Regions from separate parts of the Homo sapiens genome. Here regions 1, 2, 3 and 5 are each linked to region 4. The links are contacts of gene promoters, found by promoter capture Hi-C in human tissues and cell types (Jung and others, 2019). All regions are on one chromosome and are shown on one strand. The core of a region is centred on a gene start or on the middle of the fragment in contact, and the rest is flanking DNA. Distances in the headings are between cores, read along the strand shown.

Region 1 (4,525 bases), core at 1,188-3,687, 130 kb after region 4:
GAATTTATCAGTGTCTTCTAAGTTTTCTAGTTTATTTGCATAAAGGTGTTTATAGTATTCTCTGTGGTGGTTTGTATTTCTGTGGGGTCAGTGGTGATATCTGCTTTATCATTTTTTATTGTGTTGATTTGATTCTTGTCTCTTTTCTTCATTAGCCTAGCCAAGCTCCTGGATGAGTTGTTTTTGTTTGTTTGTTTGTTTTGAGATGGAGTCTCACTCTGTTGCTCAGGCTGGAGTGCAGTGATACGATCTTGGCTCACTGCAACCTCCACCTCCTGGGTTCAAGCAATTCTCCTGCTTCAGCCTCTTGAGTAGGTGGGATTATAGGCACCCACCACCACACTGGGCTAATTTTTGTATTTTTAGTAGAGACAGGGTTTTACCATGTTAGCCAGGCTGGTCTTGAGCTCCTGACCTCAAGTGATCTGCCTGCCTTGGCCTCCCAAAGTGCTAGGATTACAGGTGTGAGCCACCGTGCCTGGCCTGAATTTTTTTTTTTTTTTTTCGAGACGAAGTCTCGCTCTGTTGCCCAGGCTGGAGTACAGTGGCCCAATCTCGGCTCACTGTAAGCTCCGCCTCCCGGGTTCATGCCATTCTCCTGCCTCAGCCTCCTGAGTAGCTGGGACTACAGGTGCCCACCACCACACCCGGCTAATTTTTTTTGTATTTTTTTTTAGTAGAGACGGGGTTTCATCGTGTTAGCCAGGATGGTCTCGATCTCCTGACCTTGTGATCTGCCCGCCTCAGCCTCCCAAAGTGCTGGGATTATAGGCGTGAGCCACCGCGCCCAGCCTGATTTTTTTTTTTAAGGGTTTTTTTGTGTCTCTGTCTCCTTCAGTTCTGCTCTGATCTTGGTTATGTCTTGTCTTCTGCTAGATTTGGGGTTTGTTTACTCTTGGTTCTCTAGTCTTTTAGTTGTGATATTAGGATGTCGATTTGAGTTTTTTCTGGCTTTTTGATGTGGGCATTTAGTGCTATAAATTTCCCTCTTAACACTGCTTTAGCTATATCCCAGAGATTCTGGTACATTGTCTCTTTGTTCTCATTGGTTTCAAATAACTTCTTGATTTCTGCCTTAATTTCATTTTTTACCCAGAAGTCATTCAGGGGCAGGTTGTTCAATTTCCATGTAGTTGTGTGGGTTTGAGTGAGTTTCTTAATGTTGAGTTCTAATTTGATTGCGCTGTGGTCTGAGAGACAGTTATGATTTCATTTCTTTTGCATTTGCTGAGGAGTGTTTTACTTCCAAGTATGTGATCGAATCTAGAGTAAGTGCCATGTGGCACTGAGAAGAATGTATATTCTGTTTTTGGGTAAGTCTACTTGATCACAGCTGAACTCAAGTCCTGAATATCTTTGTTAATTTTTTGTCTCGATGATCTGTCTGATATTGACAGTGGGGTGTTAAGTCTCCCACTATTGTTGTGTGGGAGTCTAAGTCTCTTTGTAGGTTTCTAAAAACTTGTTTTATGAAACTGAGTGTGCCTGTATTGGGTGCATATATATTTAGGATAGTTAGCTCTTCTTGTTGAATTGAACCCTTTACCATGCTGTATGCCCTTCTTTGTCTTTTTTTGATCTTGTTGGTTTAAAATCTGTTTTGTCAGAAACTAGGATTGCAACCCCTGCTTTTTTCCTGCCTTCCATTTGCTTTGTAAATTTTCCTCCATCTCTTTATTTTGAGCCTGTGCATGTCTTTGCATGTTAGATGGGTCTCTTGAATACAGCACACCAATGGTTCTTGTCTTTTTAGCCAGCTAACCATTTTGTGTATTTTAATTGGGGTATTTAGTCCATTTACTTTTAAGGTTAATATTGTTATGTGTGAATTTGGTCCTGTCATCATAATGCTGGCTGGTTATTTTGCAGACGTGTTAATGTAGTTGCTTCATAGTGTCATTCGTCTGTGTACTTGAGTGTGTTTTTGTAGTGGCTGATAATGGTTTTTGCTTTCCATATTTAGTGCTTCCTTCAGGAATTCTTGTAAAGCAGACCTGGTGGTGCTGAATTCCCTCATTATTTGCTTGTCTGAAAAGGACTTTATTTCTCTTTCACTTACGAAGCTTAATTTGTCCGGATATGACATTTGGGTTGGAAATTCTTTTCTAAGAATGTTGAATATTGGCATCCAATCTCTTCTGGCTTGTAGGGTTTCTGCTGAGAGGTCCACTGTTAGTTTGATGGGCTTACCTTTGTGGTGATCTGTCCTCTCTCCCTGCGCTTAACATTTTTTCCTTCATTTCAACCTTGGAGAATCTGATGATAATGTGTTTTGGGATTGATCTTCTCATGGAGTATCTTACTGGGTTTCTCTGAATTTCCTGAATTTGAATGGTGGCCTATCTTGCTAGGTTGGGGAAGTTCTCATGGATGATACCGTGAAGTATGTTTTCCGACTTGGATGCGATCTCCCCGTCTCTTTCAGGTACCCCAGTTGTAGGTTCAGTCTTTTTTTTTTTTTTTTTTTTTTTTTTTGAGATGGAGTCTTGCTGTGTTGCCCAGGCTGGAGTGCAGTGGCGTGATCTTGGCTTACTGCAACCTCCACCTCCTGGGTTCAAGCGATCCTTCTGCCTCAGCCGCCCGAGTAGCTGGGACTACAGGCACACACCACCACGCCTGGCTGATTTTTGTATTTTTAGTAGAGATGGGGTTTCACCATCTTGACCAGGCTGGTCTTGAACTCCTGGTCTCGTGATCCACCCGCCTCGGCCTCCCAAAGTGCTGGGATTATAGGCGTGAGCCACTGTGCCCAGCCAGGTTCATTCTTTTAAATAATCCCATAGTTCTTGGAGGTTTTGTTCATTTCTTTTCATTTTTTCTTTTTCGTTTTTTTTTTTTTTTTTTTTTTTGAGACGGAGTCTCGCTCTGTCGCCCAGGCCGGACTGCGGACTGCAGTGGCGCAATCTCGGCTCACTGCAAGCTCCGCTTCCTGGGTTCACGCCATTCTCCTGCCTCAGCCTCCCGACATTTTTTTTTTTTCTCTAACCTTGTTTGCCCGTCTTATTTTAGCAAGATAGTCTTCAAGCTCTGATATCCTTTCCTCTGCCTGGTCTGTTCAGCTGTTGATACTTGTGGTTGTATTGTGAAGCTCTCCTGTTGTGTTTTTCAGCTCAATCAGGTCATTTATGTTCCTCTGTATACTAGCCATTCTGGTTAACAGCTCCTGTAATGTTTTATCATGGTTTTTCGCTTCTTTGCCTTGGGTTAAAACATACTCCTTTAGCTCAGCGAAGTTTGTTATTACCTACCTTTTGAAGCCTACTTCTGTCAATTCATTCTTCTCTGCCTCAGCCCAGTTCTCTGCCCTTGATGGAGAAGTGTTGCAATCATTTAGAGAAGAGACACTCTGGCTCTTTGAGATTTCAGCGTTCTTGCATTGATTCTTTCTCATCTTTGTGGATTTATCTGCCTTTGATCTTTGAGGCTGCTGACCTTTGGATAGGGTTTTTGTGGGATCTTTTGTGTTGATGTTGTTGTTGTTGCTTTCTGTTTGTTTTTCTTTTAATAGTAAGGCCCCTCTTCCATAGGGTAGGGCTGCTGCAGTTTACTAGGGGACCACTCCTGACCTAATTCATCTACCCCCTCCTGCACCTGGAGGTATAAGCAGTGGAGGCTGCAGAACAGCAAAGATGGCTGCCTCCTCCTCTGGGAGCTTCATCCCAGAAGGCACGGAGCTGATGCTGGCTGGAACGCTCCTGTATCAGGTGCCTGGTGACCCCAGTTGGGAGGTCTCACCCAGTCAGGAGGGATGGGATCAGGAACCTGCTTAAAGAAGCAGTCTGACTGCCCCTTGGCTGAGCAGGTTCGGCTGTGCTGGGGAGAATTCCCCTCATCTGGACTGCCAACAGGCAGGAAAGACTAGGTCAGCTGAACCATGAGACCATGACCACCCCTACCCGTAGAGGCTCCTTCCCAGGGATATCAGAGTTCTGTCCATAAACTCCTGGCTAGAGTTACTGCAGTTCCTGCAAGGAGGTTCTGCCTGGTGAAGAGAGAAGGATCTGGGTCCCACCTAAGGAAACAATCTGGCCACGATCTGCCACCGCCACTGTGTTGTGCTGTGGGGAATTCCTCTTCGTCCAAACCGCCAAGTTTCCCCAACACCAGCAAAGGAAAATGGCAGACTGGAGCCGCAGTGATGGCGACTGCCCCTTTCCGTGGGAACTTGGTAGTCTTAGGCAGTGTCCAGCCTGCTGCTGCTAGCCACAACCTGAGCAGGTTGCACAGCTCTGTGCTTGGGTCCCAAGGCCTTGGTGGCGTGGGCTCATGAGGGGATTTCCTGATCCATGGGATGTACAGATCTGTGGAAAAAGTCTGGTTTCCCGCGCAGGGTAGCACAGTTACTCACCACCTCCCTTGGCTGGGTGTGGGAGTTCGCCTTTGTGGCTACCAGGTCAGGTTGTCGCTCTACCCTGCTTTTCCTAGCTCTGTGTGGATCACACCAACCACCTAGTCAGTCCCAGTGAGAGAACCTGGATACCTCAGTTGACGGAGCAGGATTCACTGGCCGTTTTTGCTCCTCTTA
Region 2 (4,410 bases), core at 1,674-4,173, 230 kb after region 4:
ATCTTTTTTTCTTTTTTTTTTTGAGATGGATTCTCGCTCTACTGCCCAGGCTGGAGTACAGTGGCACCATCTCGGCTCACTGCAACCCCCACCTCCCAAATCTATGATCTCTTTCATATTTGCTTACTTTTCTATTAGATTGTTGATCCTTCCTCTTACTGATTTATAGAAGCCCTTTGTTAGGTGCATTAGCTCATTGAGGTATGAGTTGAATGTATCCAGATTTATAAATTTTAAAAGAGGGATTTACAAAAGTCCTCTAAGTCTTGCTTTAAGTTAATGGTTAGAGCTGTGAAAACCTAATTAAGTCATTTCACACAATGTTCTCCCATGAGAAAATCCAAAGTTTGTTTAAAATTCAAAATTTACCATTTTAATCATTTTAAGTGTATAGCTAAGTGGCATTAAATACATTCACAATATTGTATAACCACCACCACTTTCTATTTCCAGAAGTTTTTCATCACCCAAACTACAACTCTATTAAAGTAATAACTACTCATTTCCTTCCCGTCCTCCCAGCCCCTGGTAACCTGTACTCTGCTTTCTGTCTCTATGAATTTCCCTACTCTAGATACTTCATATAAGTGGGATTACACAATGTTTTTCCTTTTTTGTCTGGCTTATTTCACTTAGCATAATGTTTTCAAGGCTCATCCATATTGTAAGCATACGGAGGAATAATCTATTGGAATATTTTTATATAGCATATTATTTACATATAATATTCCATATGGAGGAATAATATTCAATTTTTTGTGTACACCACATCTTGTTTATCCATTCATCTGGTGAAAAATAATTTGGGCCTAGGCACAGTAGCTCACGTCTCTAATCCCAGCACATTGGGAAGCTGAGGTGGGTGGATTGCCTGAGCCCAGAAGATCAGGACCAGCCTGGGCAACATGGCGAGACCCCATGTCTATAAAAAATTTAAAAATTAGTTGGGCGTGGTGGTGTGCGCCTGTAGTTCTAGCTACTCAGGAGGCTGAGATGAGAGGATCACCTGAGCTTAGGAGATGGAGGTTGCAGTGAGCTGAGATTGCACCATGCACTCCAACCCGGGCAACAGAGACCCTGTCTCAAAAAAAGTTGATGAACGCATACATATTAAAAAAAAAAAAAAAAAAAGATGGACAGGGCTCGGTGGCTCACGCCTGTAATCCCAGCACCTGGGAGGCTGAGGCAGGTGGATCACCTCAGGTCAGGAGTTCGAGACCAGCCTGACCAACACGGTGAAACCCCATCTCTACTAAAAATACAAAAATTAGTTGGGCATGGTGGTGGGCGCCTGTAATCTCAGCTACTCGGAAGACTGAGACAGGAGAATCGCTTGAGCCTGGGAGGCAAAGGTTGCAGTGAGCCGAGACCATGCCATTGCACTCCAGCCTAGGCAACAAGAGCAAAACTCCATCTCAAAAAAAAAAAAAAGATAATTTGTATTGTTTCCCTCTCGGCTGTTGGGAATAATGCTGCTGTGAACACTGGCATACATACTGTTTGAGTCCCTCTTTTCAGTACTTTTGTGTGTTTACGTAAGAGTGGAATTGCTGGGTCCTATGGTAATTCTGTGTTCAACTTTCTTTTTGAGATGGAGTCCCACTCTGTCACCCAGGCTGGAGTGCAGTGGTGCGATCTGGGCTCACTGAAGTCTCTGCCTCCTGGGTTGAAGCGATTCTCATGCCTCAGCCTCCTGAGTAGCTGGGATTACAGGCATGTGCCATCACGCCCAGCTAATTTTTGTATTTTTAGTAAAAACGGGGTTTCACCATGTTGGCCACACTGATCTGTCTTCTGACCTCAGGTCACCCACCCTCCTCAGCCTCCCAAAGTGCTGGGATTGCAGGCGTGAGCCACCAAGCCCAGCCTCCATGTTCAACTTTTTGAGGAACCACTATTTTTTTTAATCCTACAGCAGCCACACCATTTTACATTTACAATGTATAAGGCTTTCAGTTTCTTTATACCCTTGCCAACACATGTTATTTTCCATTTTTAAAATAATAGCCATCCTACTGGGTATTAAGTTATATTCATTATAATTTTGATTTGCATTTCCCTATTGACTAATGGTGTTGAGCATCTTTTCATGTGCCTGTTGTCCATTTGTATATTTTCTTGTCTATCCAAATCCTTTATTTTATTTATTTATTTATTTTTGAGACGGAATCTGGCTGTGTCACCCAAGCTGGAGTGTAGTGGCATGACCTTGGCTCACTGCAGCCTCCACCTCCCAAGTTCAAGCGATTCTCCTGCCTCAGCCTCCTGAGTAGCTGGGTTTACAGGCTCACACCACCACGCCTGGCTAATTTTTTGTATTTTTATTAGAGATGGGGTTTCTCCATATTAGTCAGGCTGGTCTCAAACTCCTGACCTCAGGTGAGCCACCCGCCTTAGCCTCCCAAAGTGCAGGGTTATAGGCATGAGCCACCATGCCCGGTCTAGTTTTCAATGTAGAAATCTTATGCCTCTTTGGTTAATTCCTAAGTATTTTATTCTTTTTGATGCCACTGTAAATAGAATTGTTTTTCTTAAGATTGGGCACAGCGGCTCACACTTGTAATCCCAGCACTTTGGGAGGCTGAGGCAGGCTGATCACCTGAGTTCAGGAGTTCAAGACCAACCTGGCTAACGTGGGCCCACCTGGCCAACATGGGGAAACTCTGTCTCTACTAAAAATACAAAAATTAGCTGGGTGTGGTGGCATATGCCTGTAATCCCAGCTATTTGTGGGACTGAGGCAGGAGAATCGCTTGAACCTGGGAGACAGAAGTTGGAGTGAACCAAGATTATGCCACTGCACTCCAGCCTGAGACTCCGTCTCAAAAACAAACCAAAAAAAAAAACCCCAAAACAAGAATTGTTTTCTTAATTTTTTTTGGACCTTTCATTCCAAGTATATAGAAGTACAACTGAATATTGTGTGTTGATTCTATATTCTGCCACTTTGGTGACTTTATTTGTTAGTGCTAACATTTTTTTGTCTGTGTGGATTCTTTAGAGTTTTATGTTTATACTATCATGCCATTCGTGAATAGAGATAATTTTCTCTCTTCCTTTTTAATTTGGATGGGCTTTATGTATTTATTTATTTTTCTAACCTAATTGCTCTGGCTAGAACTTCTAGTGGTAGGCTAGTAGAAGTGGTGAAAGAGTGGGCATCTTTGCTTTGTTTGTGATCTTAGGGGGAAAGCTTTTGTTCTTTGTTGATAATGATAGGAACTAACAGTTTTTCATATATGGCCTTTTTCATATTGAGGAAATTCCTTCTATTCTTTGTTTATTGAATGTTTTCATCTTGAAAGAGCATTGAATTTTGATAAATGAGTTGGGCACGGTGGCTCACGCCTGTGATACCAGCACTTTGGGAGGCTGAGGCGGGCAGATAGCTAGAACCCAGGAGGTGGAGGCTGCAGTGAGCCGTGATTGGGATGCTACTGCACTCCAGCCTGGGCAACAGAGTGAGACCGTCTCAAAGAAAAAGAGTTCTTTCCCTGCCACTGCTGAGTTGAGTGGAGGCAGAGGCTTGGGTGCATTCAAGATTCAGCTTCACCCGTAGACCACCACCATGGCCACGGAAGGTGTTGCTGCTGGAGGTGTGGTGGCTGTTAATACTGCTTTACAAGAGGTGTTGAAGACTGTCCTCACCCATGATGGCCTAGCACGTGGAATTTGCAAAGCTGCTGAAGGGTCAGGCCCATCTTTTGTGTGTTTGCATCCAACTGTGATGAGCCTATGTCAAGTTCATAGAGGTTCTTTGTGCTGAACACCAAATCAACCTACTTAAGGTTGATGACAAGAAGCTAGGGGGAATGGTTAGGTCTCTGTAAAATTGACAGAGAGGGGAAACCCCGTAAAGTGGTTCGTTGCAGTTGTGTAGTAGTTGAAGTACTTCAAATGCAAGAAATGAACGAATAAAACTCTGGCTAACCCCCCTGCCCCCCAACACACACACAGACACACACACACACACACTCACAGTCACACTCACTCTGGGCATGTTGGCTCAATCCTGTAGTCCTAGCACTTTGGGAGGCCGAGGTGGGCAGATTGCTCGAGCCCAAGAGTTCAAGACCAGCCTGGGCAACATGAAATCCCATCTCTGCTAAAAATACAAAAAATGGCCAGGTGCAGTGGCTCGCGCCTGTAATCCCAGCACTTTGGGAGGCCGAGGTGGGCGGATCACGAGGTCGGGACATTGAGACCATCCTGGCTAACACAGTGAAACTCCATCTCTACTGAAAATACAAAAAAATTAGCTGGGCATGGTGGCGGGCACCTGTAGTCCCAGCTACTCGGGAGGCTGAGGCAGGAGAATGGCGTGAACCCGGAAGGCGGAGCTTGCAGTGAGCCAAGATCATGCCACTGCGCTCCAGCCTGGGCGACAGAGTGAGATTCCTTCTCAAAAAA
Region 3 (4,595 bases), core at 542-3,041, 160 kb before region 4:
GTGGCATGCGCCTGTAATTCCGGCTACTCGGGAGGCTGAGGCAGGACAATCACTTGAACCCAGGAGGTGGAGGCTGCAGTGAGCAGAGATTGTGCCACTGCACCCCAGCCTGGGCGACAGAGCGAGACTCAGTCTCAAAAAAATAAATAAATAAAATTCTGAAAAACAAGGCTGGCTCACACCTGTAATCCTAACACTTTGGGAGGCCAAAGAAGGAAGACTGCTTGAGACCAGGAGTTTGAGACCAGCCTGGCAACACAGGGAGATTTCATCTCTACAAAAAAGATTTTTTAAATTAACCAGGAATGGTGGTGTGCCCATGTAGTCCTAGCTACTCAGGAGACTGAGGTGGGAGGATCTCTTGAGCCCGGGAGTTTGTAGTTACTGTGAGGTGTTATTGGGTCACTGCACTCCAGCCTGGGTGACAGAGTAAGACCCTGTCTCTAAGAAAAAAATAAAAAATAAACTCCCAGGTGTCTTCCAGGGTTATTTTGTGCTTTTATAAAAATTAGGCTGGGCATCATGACTCAAGCCTGTAATCCCAGCACTTTGGGAGGACAAGGTAGGAGGATCTCTTGATCCCAGGACAGTTCGAGAAGCCCAGCGTGGGCAACATAGTGAGACCCCATCCTTTTTTTTTTTTTTTTTTGAGACAGAGTCTCTCTCTGTCGCCCAGACTGGAGTACAGTCGTGCCATGTCTGCTCACTGTGGCCTCTGCCTCCAGGGTTGAGGCAATTCTTCTGCCTCGGCCTCCGAAATAGCTGGGATTACAGGCGTGCACTACCAGGCCTGGTTAATTTTTGTATTTTTAGTAGAGATGGGGTTTCAACATGTTGGCCAGGCTGGCCTCAAATTCCTGGCCTCAGGTTATCCGCTTGCCTCCGCCTCCCAAAGTGCTGGGAATCAGGCGTGAGCTGGGCGCGATGGCTCACACTTGTAATCTCTACTAAAAATACAAAAGAACTGGGCATGGTGGCAGGCCAGCTACTCGGGAGTCTGAGGCAGGAGAATTGCTTGAACTCAAGAGGCAGAGCTGCAGTGAGCAGAGATCGTGCTACTGTACTGCACTCCAGCTTGGGCAACTCCAGCTTGGCAACTCCATCTCAAATAAATAAATAAATACATACATATAAACATACATACATAAATAATTACATCCATTTTGATAGTCTTTTTTTTTTTTTTTTGAGATGGAGTTTCACTCTTGTCCCCGTGGCTGGAGTGCAAGGGGTCGATCCCAGCTCACTGCAACCTCTGCCTCCCGAGTTCAAGCGATTCTCCTGCCTCAGCCTCCCGAGTAACTGGGAATACAGGCGTGTGCCACCATGCCCGGCTAATTTTTGTATTTTTAGTAGAGATGGAGTTTCACCATGTTGGCCAGGCTGGTCTCAAATTCCTGACCTCAAGTGATCTGCCCACCTTGGCCTCAAAGTGCTAAAAGTCGCACATCTTGGCCTCCCAAACTGCTGGGATTACGGGCATGAGCCACTGTGCCCGGCCAGAATAGCTAATCTTTACTGAGTTCCTAGCAAGTACCAGGGTCCATGTGAAGCACACATTATGCTTTCCCTCTTTTTTTTTTTTTTTTTTTGAGACAGAGTTTTGTTCTTGTTGTCCAGGCTGGAGTGCAATGGTGCAATCTCAGCTCACCGCAACCTCCGCTTCCCGGGTTCAAGGGATTCTCCTGCCTCAGCCTCCTGAGTAGCTGGGACTATAAGCACATGCCACCACACCTGGCTAAATTTTTTTTTTTTTTTTTTTTTTGAGACTGAGTCTCGCTCTGTCGCCAGGCTGGAGTGCAGTGGCGCAATCTTGGCTCACTGCAAACTCCGCCTCCTGGGTTCATGCCATTCTCCTGCCTCAGCCTCCAGAGTAGCTGGGACTACAGGTGTCCGACACCACGCCCGGCTAATTTTTTGTATTTTTAGTAGAGACGGGGTTTCACTGTGTTAACCAGGATGGTCTCGATCTCCTGACCTCGTGATCCATCCGCCTTGGCCTTGCAAAGTGCTGGGATTACAGGCGTGAGCCACCATGCCCGGCCTAATTTTTTTTTGTATTTTTAGTAGAGACGGGGTTTCACCGTGTTAGCCAGGATAGTCTCGATCTCCTGACCTCGTGATCCACCCACCTCAGCCTCCGAAAGTGCTGGGAATTACAGGCGTGAGCCACCGCGCCCGACTATGCTTTCTCACTGCATCCTCACATCAATACACTGTGACAAAGACTACCATCATCCCTATTTTACAGACGTGAGAACTAAGGCTCAGAGAAGTTGTGACATAGCTAATAAGGGACATTTGAGACTTAACCCGAGTCTTCTCTAACTCAAGAACCCACAGTCTTAATTATGAACCATGTTGAGAGATGTTTGTAAAACACATCAGGGCTGGCCAGGCACAGTGGTTCACGCCTGTAATCCCAGCACTTTGGGAGGCCAAAGTGGGTGGATCACGAGGTTAAGAGTTCAAGACCAGCCTGGCCAAGATGGTGAAACCACGTCTCTACTAAAAATACAAAAATTAGATGGGTGTGGTGGTGGGTGCTTGTAATCTCAACTATTCGGGAGGCTGAGGCAGAGAACAGCTTGAACCTGGGAGGCGAAGGTTGCAGTGAGCCAAGATCGTGCCACCACACTCCAGCCTGGGCAACAGAGCAAGACTGTCTCAAAAAAAAAAAGTCAGGACTGGGGGAGGAGAGATGGAGAGAAACATTAGGAAGGGGAGCAATGTTGCCATGGCAACCCCACCTGTACCTCCCTGCAGACTGGTCAGTTCTCCATGGGTGGGCACCTGTCCCCATGGCCCACATACACCAGTGGCCAGACCATTTTGCAAAATCGAAAACCCTGTTCAGATGACTACCGGAAGCGAGTAGGGTAAGCCAGGGTCAGTCCCATGGTGGGTGAGCTGGCATGGGCCAGGCTTTGGGCCAGGAGACAGGGCAGGGGCGTGTGTTGCCCCAGACTGAGGGCACAAGGGCCCCGTGGGGGTGCTGGCCACATATCAGCCACTGTCCCCTGCAGGAGCTGCCAGCAGCACCCCTTTCGCACTGCCAAGCCCCAGTACTTGGAGGAACTGGAAAACTACCTACGCAAGGAGCTCCTCCTGCTGGACCTGGGCACAGATTCCACCCAGGAACTAAGGCTGCAGGTCAGAGCCACAGAAGAAACTTGGGGAGGGCGGGGGAAGGGTGGGAAGAAGCTTCACCTACCGGCCGGGCACAGTGGCTCACGCCTGTAATCTCAGCACTTTGGGAGGCCAAGGCGGGTGGACCACCTGAGGTCAGGAGTTCAAGACCAGCCTGGCCAACATGGCGAAACCCCGTCTCTACTAAAAGTACAAAAATTAGCCAGGCATGGTAGTGGGCACCTGTAGTCCCAGCTACTCAGGAGGCTGAGGCAGGAGAATCGCTTGAACCCTGAACCCGGGAGGCAGCGGTTGCAGTGAGACAAGATCACACCACTGCACTCCAACCTGGGCGACAAGAGTGAGACTCCGTCTCAAAAACAAAAAAAAGCCTCACCTACAAGGACTGAGCACCTCAGACCTTCAGGGGAGACCCACCTCTCCCAGCTCTCCTGGGTCTCCTTCCCTGAACAGAAGCATGAAACATCCCATGAAAATGCCAGTGAGGCCGGGCACAGTGGCTCATGCCTGTAATCCCAGCACTTCGGGAGGCTGAGGCAGGAGGATCGCTTGAGGTCAGGAGTTCAAGACCAGCCTGGTCAACATGGTGAAACCCTGCCTCTACTAAAAATACAAAACCTGCAGTGGTGGTACACACCTGTAGTCCCAGCTACTCAGGAGGCTGAGGCAGGAGAATTGCTTGAACCCAGGCGGCAGAGGTTGCAGTGAGCCGAGATCATGCCACTGCACTACAGCCTGGGCAACAGAGTGAGACTCTGTCAACAGAAAAAAGAAGGCCAGGCACGGTGGCTCACACCTGTAATCCCAGCAGTTTGGGAGGCCGAGGCAGGCGGATCACCAGGTCAGGAGATCGAGACCATCCTGGCTAACATGGTGAAACCCCGTCTCTACTAAAAATACAAAAAAATTAGCCAGGTGTGGTGGCAGGCACCTGTAGTCCCAGCTGCTCGGGAGGCTGAGGCAGGAGAATGGCATGAACCTGGGAGGCGGAGCTTGCAGTGAGCCAAGTTCACGCCACTGCACTCCAGCCTGGGCAACAGAGTGAGACTCCATCTCAAAAAAAAAAAAAAAAAAAGAAAACGCCAGTGAGCAGGCAAGGCTGCAATGTGGATCCAAAAGTCTCCTGAGGCTGGAGTTTCCTCACCTGAGTCAGGTGGCCTGGATGCTGTGCCCAGTCCCTGCAGCTCTGTGATCCCCAGTACCCAGGTTGGGCCACTGGACATCAGTGAACGTAGCCTGAATGCTGGCAGTTGGGCAAGCAGGGGTCACACCGTGTTTACCAGTCCAGTGGCAACAACCCCAAGCTTAAGGAACCAGCACAGATGCATAAGGAGGGAGGGAGGAAGAGAGAGAGAGAGAGAGAGAGAGATCAGATCCAACCCAGATACCAGTGTATAGTAGGGAGAGAATCACCAAATCTGCTTAAACAAGGATGATGACAGAGA
Region 4 (4,223 bases), core at 993-3,492:
TTATGCTCACCATGGTGTACTGCAGGTGAAGGTAAGTGTCAGGTAGCGCACCCCCAGCACATAGAAACTGCGCAGCACAGAGAGGCTGCTGTCCAGTGAGTGACCACCCTCCACGCCAATGAGGCAGGCCAGCTTTTGAGAGCTGTTCAGACCTAGAAGGAGGTAGAGAGTCAAGTGGTTAGATCCCAGGAACAGAACCTCCAGAGTGACATCCTGACTACCTCTCATCTGCTGGCCCACCTTCAGCTGAGGTCACAAGCTCGAGTTCAGAGTAGGAGGCACACATGCGGTGAATGAGGTCAATCTGCTCCAGGGCGAGGCGCACGGCAGTCTGGTCCTGGGACTGGCATGAGACGGAGGCTGACCAGAACTGAGGGTAGGTCAAGGGGTCCAGAATGAGGCCAGGGCGGTCTTCAACCCCCTAGGCCTGCCACTCCTGCCTCAGACCCCATAACACCCATTTGGGTCAGTGGCCCCAAGTGAGGCACTACATGACTCCATGGTACCTTGATGACTTTTTTTAAAATTATTTTTTATTTTTATTTTAAAATTTGAGACAGGGTCTTGCTCTGTCACCCAGGCTAGAGTGCAGTGGTGTGATCATGGCTCACTGCAGCCTTGACCCCCCAGGCTCAAACAATCCTCCTGCCTCAGCCTCCCAAAGTGTTGGCATTACAGATGTGAACTACCGAGCCTGGTTCCTTGATGACTGTTTGCTGCCAGCAGTCAAATGATGGACTCACGACACATCATAAATTACTGTTACGGCCAGGCCAAGTGGCTCATGCCTGTAATCTCCACACTGTGGGAGGCCGAGGAGGGTGGATCATGTGAGGTCAGGAGTTCGAGACCAGCCTGGCCAACATGGTAAAACCCTGTCTCTACTAAAACTACAAAAATTAGCAGGGCGTGGTGGCGAGTGCCTGTAATCCCAGCTACTCAGGAGGCTGAGGCAGGGAGAATTGCTTGAACCCGGGAGGCGGAGGTTGCAGTGAACCGAGATCGTGCCACTGTACTCCAGCCTGGGCGACAGAAGGAGACACTGTCTCAAAAATGCAAACAAACAAACAAGCAAAAAACTGCTGTTAGTCCATGTGCTATGTGAATGCCCCAAGGCCAATCCACTATGTCCTTTGTGGTTACGGCAGACCCCACACTCACCAGGGATTTTCTGGTCATTTTCTGCGTGTTTCCACAGAACCTGGGCATACATGCAGCTAGCCTGTCTTGGCCTCCAAGGCCCCACTCTCCTTAGAAACCACATGATGGCACACTGCATGCCCCATTGTATTTAGTCACCCAGAGGCTGGCTGACCCAGGTTTCTGTGACCCCAACATCCCCCAGCAGCCATGCTGTGGCACCCTGTGTGTCCCTGTGGTACCTGGGCACCCACGAGGCCGTCTCTAAGCCTGTCCAGGCTGGTCTGACCATGGCTGAAATTTCGCAGGTTAACATCCTGAAGCACATTCTTGTAACGCTGTCTCAGGACCTGGGGCAGGTCATTGTGGCTGGGGGTGTGAAGGTCAGATGGAAACACCGCCTCCAGATCAGTCAGGATATATCAGGTGCTTGGGTCTACCCTCCTCCACCCCACCAGGCACCTCCTCACACAGACCATATAGAGACCTCCTGAGGTTGGGTTGGAGGGAGGGGGTTAGATTCCACCAGGAATGGAGTAATGCGGGGAAGGGCACCCATGGGTGATGGAGGAGAGAGGGCATCCAGGGGTGGTGTGAGGGAGCCTCCTTGATAGCCTCCTTGATAGCATGCTCAGAACCTCCTCTCCTGCCCAAGGGTGTGCTCACCCCGCGTTGCCCAAACGCTGCACCTACATACCCGTCCACGAGTGGGAAACTCCGCATCAGGGCCTGCGCGCGACCCCGAAGGTCCAGGGTTTTGGGGGTGCCTGGCGTAGTGAGGCCTGGGGTAGTGAGGGCGCTGGGGACACCCGGCGTGGTGAAGAGGCTGGGGGAGCCCAGCGTGGAGAGGGCTCTGGGGGCGCCCGGCGTGGTCTCCGCGCGGGTTACGGGCTGCCGCAGCAGCAGCAGCAGTAGCAGGAGCAGCAGACGCCGCAGATACCGCCGGCTGAGCGCGCGGGAACCCTCGCGGCCCGTGGGCTGCATGTTGCGCGGGGGTCGGCCGCGGGAGCCTGGGAGGAGCAGGCGATGGGCAGAGGCCGACAATGGGGTCCGGATCATGACGACCCAGCCTCCCGAAGAGGGGGTTGAAGTCACGCGACTCTGAGACCGACGCGCCACGCAAGGGGGCGCCACGGCTTTTCCGCCCCCAAGCAGGAGAGCGCCCCCATGGGCCGGAACCGCCGCTGCAGCGTCGAGGACTCCTCGCCCTTCCACCCCCAGCGCTGGCTCCGTAGACCCCCACACGAGTGGGGGAGGAGGCCAGGCAGGGAACTAGTAGGGGCCCAGGGATCTTCCTGATCTCACCTCCTACCCAGGCCCACGTGGCGGTTAGCTGCCGGCTTGTGCCCAGCTCCTAGGCAGGTCAAATATTCTAAGCTGCGACTCAGAAGAGTTAATTCGGTCTGTCTGGTTTGATGGACAGAAAGATTCCCTATAGGTATTTCATTTCATTTCATTTCATTTCATTTCATTTCATTATTTCATTTCATCTCATTTCAGTTTTGAGACGGAGTTTGGGTCTTGTTGCCCAGGCTGGAGTGCAATGATGCAGTCTCGGCTCACTGCAACCTCCACGTCCCGGGTTCAAGCCATTTTCCTGCCTCAGCCTCCCGAGTAGCTGGGATTACAGGTGCCCGCCACCATGCCCAGCTAATTTTTGTATTTTCAGTAGAGATGGGGTTTTACCATGTTGGCCAGGCTGGCCTTGAACTCCTGACCTCAAGTGATCCTCCTGCCTCGACCTCCCAAAGTGCTGGGATTACAGGCGTGAGCCACCGTGCCCGGCCCCGAAAATGAAATTTAAGAACAATTTTTGTTGGGGATCATTATTTTAGCTTTTTTTCCTTCTCCAAGAGACAGAGTATCTGTCACCCAGGCTGGAGTTGCAGTGGGGTGATCATAGCTTGCTGCAGCCTTGATCATAGCTTGCTGCAGCCTTGAACTTCTGAGCTCAAGCGATCCTCCTTCCTCCACCTCCCAAGTAGCTGAGACTATAGGTGCAGTGCCACCATGCATGGCTAATTGTTATTTTTTATTTTATTAAAACAAATTTTTTTTTGAGACAGGGTCTCACTGGAGTGCAGTGGCACCATCTCAGCTCACTGTAGCCTCGACCTCCCAGGTAAAAGTGATCCTCCTGCTTCAGCTCCCTAAGTAGCTGGGAGGGACTACAGGCATGCACCACCATGCCCAGCTAATTTTTGTATATTTGCATTTTTTTTTAGAGACAGGGTTTTACCATGTTGCCCAGACTGGTCTTGAACTCCTGAGCTCAAGCGATCTGCCCACCTAGGTCTCCCAAAGTGCTAGGATTACAGGCATGAGCCACCACGTCCGGCCTTATTTCTTTTTTAGAGACGTGGTTTTTTTTTTGAGACGGAGTCTCACTGTGCCACCCAGGCTGGAGTGCAGTGGCTCCATCTCTGCTCACTGCAAGCTCCGCCTCCCGGGTTCATGCCAGTCTCCTGCCTCAGCCTCCCGAGTAGCTGGGACTACAGGCGCCCACCACCATGCCCAGCTAATTTTTTGTATTTTTAGTAGAGACCGGGTTTCACCGTGTTAGCCAGGATGGTCTTGATCTCCTGACCTCGTGATCCGCCCACCTTGGCCTCCCAAAGTTCCGGGATTACAGGCGTGAGCCACCGCACCGGGCCGAATATTTTTTTCTATATATATGTTAGTATACAGACACAAAAATGAGAGGTGACAGCGTGCTGGCAGCCCTCACAGCCCTCGCTCCCTCTCGGCACCTCCTCGGCCTTGGCGCCCACTCTGGCCGCGTTTGAGGAGCCCTTCAGCCCGTCGCTGCACTGTGGGAGCCCCTTTCTGGGCTGGACAAGGCTGGAGCCGGCTCCCTCAGCTTGCGGGTAGGTGTGGAGAGAGAGGCGTGGGCGGGAACCGTGGCTGCAGGCTGCGCTTGCGGGCCAGCTCGAGTTCCGGGTGGGCGTGGGCTTGGCAAGCCCCGCACTCGGAGCGGCCAGCCGGCCCGGGCAGTGAGGAGCTTAGCACCTGGGCCAGCAGCTGCTGTGCTCGACTTCTCGCTGGGCCTTAGCTGCCTCCCCGCCGGGCAGGGCTCGGGACCT
Region 5 (4,410 bases), core at 771-3,270, 170 kb after region 4:
GAAGAGATTACTGATACTGGTGAAAGTTTTTAGAGACTAGTGTTAACAGTAGTAGTAATTTATTTATTGCCTACAACATAAATGCTTCTCTGGAAATCAGATGGGATAATAGTCTAATTAGTTTATTTGATCTTCCTTTAAAAGTCTCTCAGATAGAAAGGCATAGCCCTATTTTTCTTATGGTATTATACATCTGGAACAGATGTTGGTCAAAATATGTGTTATGAAATATATTCCCTTTGAAATCTTATATGAGTGATTACCTTCCCCCAACATCAGTTTATTTTATCAAAGTATAAAAAGCAAGTGGCTTATGACTTTGTGAAGCTCTTATACATGTCAGCCATCTAATATGACTAGGATTCTTTGGTATAGAGTACTTGCCAGTATGTTATTTGATATCTGGATAACTTAATAGGTAATAGCAAACTTTTTTATTTATATTCTCTATTTTAGATTTAACTACCTCATTTTGACGAGCTACTTTAATGCCTATAATTTTTTTGTTGGTTTTTTCTTTTTCTATATAAGAGCAAATTGCCTACAGTTCTTTTAGAAATAATGTATTGACTAACTTCATGAGTTATTTTGCTTCACCAAATTGTACTCTGTTATTCTAAAATTTATTCTTTCAACAATGATTGAATGCCTGTAATGTGCTAGGCGCTCTGCTAGGCTCTGGAGATAACAAGATGGATACTGTCCTCTTCACAGTGCTCACAGGCAAGTGGTAAAGTTGTTGCTGTTTATTTCTCCACTTGATGAACAGTTGGTCATGTAGAATAATTTGTTAAATTTATGATTAAACATGAAAGAGCAACAGGTATACCAAAAAGGAATGACTAATCACTGAATAGATGAATGTGAGGAAGTTGCCTAATCATTGTTAGCTTCAGATTATCTGTGAACTGAAAAAAAAAAAAAAAAAAAGACATATAGTCCACAGGAGTTTTTGGATGCAGTGAACTATAACCACTCTCTACCTTCATTTTTTTTTACCTCTGGGTATAAATCTGGATGAATCTCACGTGGCATTATTACTTACCCCATCTGCCGCCAGATAAACCAAAAGAGTAATGGCTGAAATTTGTTTTTGCACAGATACACATAAAATATATGCCCAAACTTTTCCAGTTTCCTTTTAGCTATTGATTTATTTAGGATTTATTTATTTATTTATTTAGAGATGGAGTTTTGCTCTTGTTTTGCACTCCAGGCTGGAGTGCAATGGCGCGATCTCGGCTCACTGCAACCTCCGCCTCCTGGGTTCAAGCGATTCTCCTGCCTCAGTCTTCCTGAGTAGCTGGGATTAGAGGCATTCGCCACCATGCCCGGCTAATTTTGTATTTTTAGTAGAGATGGGGTTTCTCCATGTTGGTCAGGCTGGTCTCGAACTCCCGACCTCGGGTGATCCACCTGCCTAGGCCTCCCAAAGTGCTGGGATTACAGGTGTGAGCCACCGTGCCTGACCTAGGCTTTATTTTTGTTATTGTGATGATATTGACATTTTATAGTTTTATGGAATAGTTTCCATAATTAAAGCTTTGAAATTTATTAATTTTACACTAAAATGTGTAAAAAAATTACAAATGAGAATACTGATAGATTTCTTGACTACATAAAAATTAAAATATTTACAGAAAATGGAAACATAAATGTAATAAATTGAACAGGTTTACTTTCACTAAACATAAGACAGCTGTAGCTTAAGCCTGCTGGCAGGTGAGAAAGAACCAATAAGCAAGCAGCACAAGTCATTTTGCATCTGAGAACTCTGGAAAGGTTCAGGAATTTGACGTACTGGATATCTCTGAAAGTGGGATGTGAGGTGAGACTGAAAACAAGAAGATTGGATAAAAAGTCTATAAAAGAAGGAGTTAAGACCGGGCACGGTGGTTCACACCTGTAATCCTAGCACCTTAGGAGGTTGAGGCGGGTGGATCATTTGAGGACAGGAGTTTGGGACCACCTGGCCAACATGGTGAAACCCTGTCTCTACTAAAAATACAAAAAAATTAGCCGGGCATGGTGGCTCATGCCTGTAGTTCCAGCTACTCAGGAGGCTGAGGCAGAAGAATTGCTTGAACCTGGGAGGTGGAGGTTGCAGCACCACTGCACTCCAGCCTGGGCAACACAGCGAGACTCCATCTTAAAAGAAAAAAAAATTAAATTGAATTTAAAAAGGACTTAAATTTCCCAGATGTTTCTTTCCTGTGTGGTACAGCCTAGTGATAATGCCTGTCTTACCCTGAGAGAATCTGGTGATTCTATAGAGAGAATGAAGTGGAGGTTCTAGATTCTAGGAGAGCTAAAGGCTAGGCTTAATGATCTGTTCTTAAAATGGGGTGGGGGCGGAAGGGAAGGCATAATGGAAGTCTGCATACTGAAGAGTGAGACCTCTGACCATTTTATTAGTTCCCACAATGCTTGCAATAGGTTTACTATGCTCCCTAGGCAGAAGACTGCAGGATGTGTTTTAGGCAAACTCACTGGTCCAGTAGAAGAGACCTGTAGATTCTAAGAAATAAACTTTACTTTTAACATGTTTAAATTACTGTTACTTTGGATTTTTGTTTATGCAGCCAAACTTAATCCTAATATAAAAGGCAATTATTAACTGTAACCAAATAAGTTGTATGAAAAAGGAAATATAATTAAAATACACTACAAGGCTGAGCTGCAAGTAACATGTATCCAGTTATAATGCAAACACTGAAAGTTCAAAAGATAATATATCTAACCTTGAAAAACATTAGGAAATAGCAGTATTAACATGTTCCTTAGAAATATGGAAGTAAGTTCCAAAAGAAACAGTGAAAAGGGTTACAAATGGTTCCCTTCTGAGGAGCAGAAATTGATCCAGAATTGGTGATAAATGGAAAACAAAACCATATTTATAACTTGTAAGGCAGACAAAGGGTTAATATGCTTAGTATATCTAAAGGGCTTGTAAAATTAATAATACTAAAATAGAAACAGAAAATGAGCAAATCATATAAACAGCCACAAAGGGGAAAAGTTGTCTGTGTAGACTATTACCACTTCTCTGTTCTTTGCTTTTTTGATAGGTTAGAAGTAGTTTTCTTATTTATTTGATATTTAATAAGATTGAGCATTTTTCCATTTATTTATTAGCTGTTTTTCCCTGCTTTATATGCTCTACTTATATCCTTTGAGAAGGGTAGTTGGAATTACGATTTGTCATCTTCCTTGAATCTGGAATTGTTTCTGCAGTATGAATTATAATAAAGAATCTTGCCCGTTGCAAAACATTATTATAAACCTTTGGTGGTTATATCCTGAGGTCTTTGTGCCTCTTTGGTTACAAGTCTTCTAGATCAGTGTCTCTCAGCTCTATCAGACCCAGCCCCACTCTCAAAAAAAGCCCCACATCCATTTTGTAATGCTACTTTATTAACTTGAAATGGAGATTTAAAGATAATACAATTAGGCCAGGCACAGTGGCTCATGCCCGTAATACCAGCATTTTGGAAGGCCAAGGCAGGAGGATCACTTGAAACCAAGAGTTTAAGACCAGCCAGGGCAACCTAGTGGGACTTCTATATCTAAAAAAAAAAAAAAAAAAAAAAAGCTAGGTTTGGTGGCACACTCCTGATGTCCTAGCTACTCTAGAGACTGAAGTGGAAGGATCCTTTGAGCCCAGAAACTCAGGGTTGTGTTGAGCTATGATTGTGCCATTGCACTGTAGCTTAGGTGACATAACGAGACCCTGAATCAAAAAAAAAAAGTGATATAATTGACTACACGTATAATTTTAAGAATATCAGTTATAATGCAGTACTATTAAGAGAAAAATAAATATATAAACTAAATTATAGTTGATGTGGTTTGGCTATGTCTCCACCCAAAATCTCATCTTGAATTGTAATCCCCATAATTCCCACGTGTGAAGGGAGAGGCCAGATGGGGGTAATTGAATCACTGGGGTGGCTTCCCCATGCTGTTCTCTTGATAGTGAGTTCTCATGAGATCTGATGGCTTTGTAAGTGTTTGGTAGTTTTTCCTGTATTCATTCTCCCTCCTGCCACCTTGTGAAGAAGGTGCCTTGGTTCCCCTTTACCTTCAACCATGACTGTAAATTTCCTGAGGCCCCCCCAGCCATGGGGGACTGTGAGTCAATTAAACCTCTTTCCTTTATAAATTACCCAGTCTCGGGCAGTTTCTTATAGCAGTATGAGAATGGACTAATACAGTAGTTTAAAAGTATGGCTGGGCATTGTAGCTCACACCTGTAATCACAGCTACTTGGGTGGCTGAGGCAGGAGGACGTTTGAGTCAAGGAGTTCAAGACCAGCTTAAGCAAAACAGTGGGACCCCATCTTAAAAAAAAAAAAGTTTCAAAGTGAAAAGCCTTGATAATGACTATAGAAGACACAGTGAAGTAGTTGG

The links. The method cuts DNA at HindIII sites, captures the fragments that hold promoters and counts their contacts. A contact is called where the count stands out against the background at its distance.
Region 1: a contact is called between a fragment that was not itself captured here and the fragment with the promoter of DPEP3 in region 4, in 1 of the 25 tissues and cell types used here (aorta).
Region 2: a fragment that was not itself captured here is called in contact with the fragment with the promoter of DPEP3 in region 4 in 2 of the 25 tissues and cell types used here (bladder and thymus).
Region 3: a fragment that was not itself captured here is called in contact with the fragment with the promoter of DPEP3 in region 4 in 1 of the 25 tissues and cell types used here (pancreas).
Region 5: a fragment that was not itself captured here is called in contact with the fragment with the promoter of DPEP3 in region 4 in 3 of the 25 tissues and cell types used here (dorsolateral prefrontal cortex, lymphoblastoid cells and spleen).

The regions. Positions count from the first base shown.
Region 1 is chr16:68,109,821-68,114,345 of GRCh38, forward strand. The region is part of intron 1 of NFATC3 (nuclear factor of activated T cells 3); the gene reads left to right. Among named protein-coding and RNA genes, the nearest start is that of NFATC3, 27 kb to the left of the region's middle. The HindIII fragment of the contact is 6,107 bases long and covers 1-4,525 here.
Region 2 is chr16:68,205,894-68,210,303 of GRCh38, forward strand. The region is part of intron 9 of NFATC3 (nuclear factor of activated T cells 3); the gene reads left to right. It also overlaps the pseudogene RPS12P27. Among named protein-coding and RNA genes, the nearest start is that of MIR6773, 25 kb to the right of the region's middle. The HindIII fragment of the contact is 3,682 bases long and covers 1,083-4,410 here.
Region 3 is chr16:67,818,073-67,822,667 of GRCh38, forward strand. It overlaps TSNAXIP1 (translin associated factor X interacting protein 1), which reads left to right. Exons shown (of 16, transcript NM_001288990.3): 3 at 2,767-2,879; 4 at 3,027-3,153. Among named protein-coding and RNA genes, the nearest start is that of TSNAXIP1, 13 kb to the left of the region's middle. The HindIII fragment of the contact is 4,075 bases long and covers 1-3,829 here.
Region 4 is chr16:67,978,257-67,982,479 of GRCh38, forward strand. DPEP3 (dipeptidase 3) reads right to left here and starts at 2,243. Exons shown (of 10, transcript NM_001370198.1): 1 at 1,838-2,243; 2 at 1,383-1,509; 3 at 241-370; 4 at 11-152. The coding sequence starts at 2,124. RefSeq lists an enhancer at 1,567-2,067. The HindIII fragment of the contact is 8,829 bases long and covers 1-4,223 here.
Region 5 is chr16:68,146,845-68,151,254 of GRCh38, forward strand. The region is part of intron 3 of NFATC3 (nuclear factor of activated T cells 3); the gene reads left to right. Among named protein-coding and RNA genes, the nearest start is that of NFATC3, 64 kb to the left of the region's middle. The HindIII fragment of the contact is 8,254 bases long and covers 1-4,410 here.